2 separate regions of the Homo sapiens genome follow, and region 2 is linked to region 1. The links are contacts of gene promoters, found by promoter capture Hi-C in blood cells and fetal thymus (Javierre and others, 2016). All regions are on one chromosome and are shown on one strand. The core of a region is centred on a gene start or on the middle of the fragment in contact, and the rest is flanking DNA. Distances in the headings are between cores, read along the strand shown.

What was found. Contacts are between HindIII fragments. The CHiCAGO score rates a contact against its expected background, and 5 or more counts as called.
Region 2: a fragment that was not itself captured here is called in contact with the fragment with the promoter of ZNF691-DT in region 1 in 1 of 17 cell types (monocytes); the score reaches 5.1 in monocytes.

What each region holds. Positions count from the first base shown.
Region 1 is chr1:42,844,917-42,847,676 of GRCh38, forward strand. ZNF691-DT (ZNF691 divergent transcript) reads right to left here and starts at 1,498. Exons shown (of 5, transcript NR_186083.1): 1 at 1,341-1,498. ZNF691 (zinc finger protein 691) reads left to right here and starts at 1,697. Exons shown (of 4, transcript NM_001242739.2): 1 at 1,697-1,741. ERMAP (erythroblast membrane associated protein (Scianna blood group)) reads left to right here. Exons shown (of 12, transcript NM_001017922.2): 12 at 1-75. RefSeq lists enhancers at 1,234-1,503, 1,664-1,733. The HindIII fragment of the contact is 2,341 bases long and covers 1-1,553 here.
Region 2 is chr1:42,331,040-42,333,739 of GRCh38, forward strand. All of the region lies in intron 1 of FOXJ3 (forkhead box J3), which reads right to left. Among named protein-coding and RNA genes, the nearest start is that of FOXJ3, 2.8 kb to the right of the region's middle. The HindIII fragment of the contact is 1,167 bases long and covers 782-1,948 here.

The DNA of each region.
Region 1 (2,760 bases), core at 248-2,747:
ATCACAGTGACTCAGTGGAATTTTTTGTTTGCTTTTGTACAGTTTTAAAATAAAAGTTTGGTATTTGTGTTTTGGTATGCTGTTATTTTCATTGTGAATGAGGAGTTGTGGGGAAGGTAAGAGATTGGTTTCCAAAGAGCTTTGAGTCCCCCAAGGCAAGGTTTAGCCACCGTTCATACTAAAGCCATAGTTTTATTCCTGAGTCTGCTCTCTAGTATTTTATTTTATCAATTTATAAACAAATAGTGTTCATAAGGCACACATATTTCACTCAACCATATTCAGTTCCAAACATGCATTCCTGAATATCCCAATCTTAAAACTAACTCACATTGTCAGCTTGTGGAGGCAGAATACATGCATACATATACACATACATACATGAATATACATATAATATACACACACATATGCATACATACACATATACACATGTATACATGTATGTGTATATACATATCTGTACTACATAGGTGTATATATATGTATATGTATTTAGCATGTATGCACGTGTATATGTATACACATATATACATATGTATGTATAATACATATTCACACATGTATGCATGTATATACACATGTATACATTAGTATATGTATATACACATGTATGTGTATTATACATGTATATATGTACATACATATCAGTCTACTGATTTGAATATTAATGTCATCAAGAAATAACCTCAATATATGTATGTATTATAACCTTACAACTATATAAAACATACATACATATATATGTATATATGTATACACATACACATGCATGAGAATATATGTATGTATATATAATATCCTCACAGTAATTCTGCCAGGGATTTTATGGGGGAGGGAGTTGGTACTCCAAATGGCTAGGTGGTAGAGCCAGAGTTTTATACTTGGTTTATCTAGCTCTGAAGGCAATGCTCCTTGTTCTTTGCACTGAAACATTGTGCAGATACGAGAAGCCTGTAGTTTACGTATTTCATTAGCCTTTTATTATTTTAAAAAATAAAACCTGAAAAAAAAGACCTAGTCCTGGATACTTTGGTGATCTTGTTGTGTCTGGATTGACGAACACGTGTCAGGCTTAATTAGGGATGCACGCGGAACCCGGGAAAATCCCTGCTCAGGGGGGCTGGAAGACCTGGAGGTTGATCCTTGAACAGGGTACTTTTAGCTTCTCCGATAAGGAGATTGGGTTATTTTATCTTTAAACTCCCTTCCAGCTCTACCCTCCTTTGATTTTAAGTTATAAACCTTGAGTGAGGTGCCAGACTCTAGGCTTCGTTGGACGTCTACAGGACGGTCAAGGATTACCAACTCAAAGTAAAGAAGGAAATTTGAGTACTTGCCCCCTTGGAGGTTGTGTAGGTTGGCTATACAGATTCTACAACTTCCCAGACGAGTGGCCCTGAGACTTGGGGCTGAACGCGCGAGCACGGAAAGAAATCCCACCGTAGGACGGAACCCAGTCTCTTCAGCTCCATCCTAAACTTCGCAAGTTTTCTCTGAGTCTACGCGCTTCCTTAGGACTACAACTCCCAGCATGCCACGCCAGCGGTCAAAGCTTATTGGTGGTCCTGCCAGGTCGCTTGCGTTGTGGCAGTCATGGTAGCCAATGGAAATAAAGAATTATCCCAAGAAACCAATCCTGGAGTAGTAGGGCGGATCCTTCCTGGGTTCCGGCTCCGGCTCCAGCTCCTTCCCTCGCCTACAGAGGCGGCGCTGTCCCTGATCGAGCGGCGGGAGCGAGGTGGGTCCGGGTTGGGCCCGAGGTCGCGGGGGGAGGCGGACACGACTTCGCGGGAAACTCTGTACACGGCCACTTCCCTCTCACCGAGGATCTGGATGCTGCTGCTTTGCTCCCTGGACCGAGTGGGAAGCCAAGGGGCCTTGTGGTCCCTCCGCCGCGACCCTCGCCCTGGCCCCCGGCCCACGCAGCCAGGTGGCTGTCCCCAACCCATTCCCCGGCCCTTCTGTTGGGTTTGAGTATACAGCCTTCCTGCCGCTGACCATACGTTTAGGATCAGCCCCTCCTCCTCTCCCACCTCTCTGGCCCCAAGCCCGCCGGCAATCTCTGAAACCAGCTCTTGTACCCTTGGACCTCCGCCATTGGCTTCTCCCCGCCCCGCAACACACAACTCAGCTCTTGGGCCCTGGCCTGTGACACTTCTGGCAGCCTTTGCTTCCTCTTCCCTGACCGTCTCCTGCGACCCTCTGACTTCCTTGGTCCTCCTGTATCTCTGACCCGTTATCTAGCTTCCCTGTACAATTACCCTGTTAGCACCTTGCTCTTGGTCTTTCATAGCTCCTCTCTCCTCTTCCTCCCTGCAGCCCTTGACTTGGCCCCAAAGACCTGTAACTTCGGACCTCCATACCGCACTATGGCTTGGCCCCTTGCCTTTAACCTAGGCGCTTCACCTTCATCATCTGTGATCACTAGCCCCATCTTCTTGGCTCTTAACTTCTTAGACCTGGCCCCTCCTCCACTTCTCAGCCCCTTCCACCGTTGCTTCTCTCTGTGCAGCTGAGCCACCAGGAAGACAAAGCCCAATAGACCCCTTTTCCCCCCAGATCTCTGCAGTGTGATATGAAAGTGCCTCTGTACTTCAGCTGCACTGTCTTCTCAGTAGGTAGTTGCCTCTTTATCTCTGCAAGTCCCAGTCTTACCCATCCTGCAAACCTTAGGTCAAATACCTACTCCTCCTTGAAACTTCTCAGCCCTGATTTCATCAGGGAGATACATCTGTATCATGTGAACTTCAGTGGTAC
Region 2 (2,700 bases), core at 115-2,614, 510 kb before region 1:
GGTTGGCAGGGTGAAGATTCAATGAAAATGGGGAGGAGTTTAAAAGAATTAAGAAACTTGACCAGGCGCGGTGGCTTACACCTGTAGTCTCAGCACTTTGGGAGGCCGAGGCAGGCAGACCACTTGAGGTCAGGAGTTCAAAGACCAGCCTGGCCAACATGGTGAAACCTCGTCTCCACTAAAAACGCAGAAATTAGCGGGGCATGGTGGTGCACGCCTGTAATCCCAGCTACTGTGGAGGGTGAGGTGGGAGAATCGCTTGAACCTGGGAGGCAGAGGTTGCAGCGAGCCGAGATGGCGCCACTGCACTCCAGCCTAGGCGACAGAGAGAAACTCTGTCTCAAATAATAATAATAATAATGAAAGAATAAGAAACTCAAATGTCCATCAACTAAAGCAATGGCTATCAACGTAGTATATACATACAGTGGAATATTATTTGGCAATAAAAAGGAATGAAATACTGATACATGCTACATGGATGGGCCTTGAAACATATGCAAGTGAAAGAAGTCAGACACAAAAGACCGTATGTTGTATGAAATGCCCACAACAGGCATTTGGAATTATCAACATCTCTACAAGATTGTAAGTACATTAGTGGCTGCCTGGAGGTGAGGGTACGGGGAGTGACTGCCAATGGGTACAAGGCTTTTTTTTGAAATGCTGTCCTAAAAATGACTGTGGTGATGGTTGCACAACTCTGTGAATACACTAAAAACCACTGACTTGTATACTTTAAATGTGTGAATGAAATGGTATGTGAATTATACTTCAAGAAAGCTTTTTTAAAAAAAAAAAAGAATAAAAGTTTAAGGAGAGAAGCGTTAAAGTATAAAATCACTGGCTTTGGAACATAAGTTTGTTTCTTTTTTTAAGGAAATACTAATAATTACCATATCAGATACTAATGTCTCTACAAATCCTGTGAAAAACAAATCTGGCATCTATTCTTACCCCTCCTTTCAATTTTCTCTCTAAGTTTACAAATTATCTCTTCTGCTTTAATTCAATTGTCTTTTCATTGTAGTCACTGTTTCTGAACTTCTACACCGCATTTGAAACTGTCAACACCCTGCCCTTGTAGAAAATCTTCCTATCCTGGAAATGATGCACTTTCTGGTTCTTCTCAGAATGCTATTAGCCTATTTCAAGACCCAAAATTCCAAACCTCAAAGCTCTTTCTTCATTATACTACTACCCTCCCAACACACATCTACTGATGTGTTTTACTAGCATCTATATCCCTGGTCAGTGCAAAATCTACCTTTCATCTAACCGTTCATTGTATATGGGAATAATTACATGCATAAGGTTAAGCAACTTGCCCAAAGTCCCTTCTGATTTTAATACCTTATTATGAAGATTTAATGAATTAAACAAACGTAGGCGCTTAGAATACCTGTCATACAGTAAGTAAATGTTAGCTATTATTTTATTCCTACAACCACTATCTTATATCAGACCCTCATCAGCTTATTCCTAAAATTCTCCATAAGCACTCTAATCAGTCTCTCCACTCCCAGGACACTCAGCTGAAACAAAAACCTTCCTCAGGAACAAGATGCATCATCTTACTCTCATTCTTTAGAACCCATTGTGGTACCCTATCAAACTAAACCCTCTATCCTTGAAAGATCCTCCATCAATACCCCCTCACCAATCCTAAACTCATTTATTATTATTCACCAACACAGATGATCTGACAGTCAAGCTCCTTGATATCATTTGTACATTGCCACTTCTCTCGCTTTGCACAGGCCCCTTCACTCTCCTGAAATACACCTCTTTCCCTTTGGAAATTTGTATCTTTCTCAAATGTCCCTTACACTTTTGACCTTGGTTGTACTGTTATCCCAAGGAGAAGTTTGATGCAGTTTGATAATTCTGAATGATGTACATGTTTCCCGAACAGAAAAAGAAACTCTGTTCTTTCGATATAAGTTGAAGCTTTCCAAGAGACCACGTATCTTATTCGTCTCTTCATACAGACTTCACACATAGATAACTCGGTACTTTACAGAAGTACACAAATGCTGACTTACCAAAAAAAAACAAAAAGCCTCAGTATGTATCAGAACAACATTCTCCATTTTCCACTGCCCCACCCATACTTAGCATAATGAAAAAATATAATCTAAAATCTATATTTAAATATTTTCATTCTACATAGAAGGAAAGGGAATATACGAACTGTACCAGATAAAAGGAAAAAAATGTCAAAAATATACTCAAAGAATGTACAATGTGAAAAAGTGAGAATGCAGGCCACTTTGGAATCTAGTAAGTGACTTTGAAACATTAAGTTTTTTTATTTTACCCAAACTAATGAACAAAAAAGAGCCAAAATAAACACGTTCTAGCCTCATCCAAAAAAAATCTAATGAAAGCATGAGAAACTTCCCAGTTTTGTCCTCGGCAGCACAAAACCAAGAAGATTCACCTCAATTCTGAGACACAAAAGCAAAAAGAGAAATCCTCCTATTTATCTAAGAAACTAAAAAACTTAATCACGTCTATATAATATATACCACTCAGAAAAAGAGAGGAGTTACTGCTTTTCTATAAATATTTGCTAGGGACCAGGAGGAATAGGCTTCTCTCACTGTTATTGCGGGAACAATCTGTGGTCTCAAAACAGCAAAACAGAAGATGGAAACCCTAATCTGGAAGAGACATTAAGAAAAAAACTACTCAAAC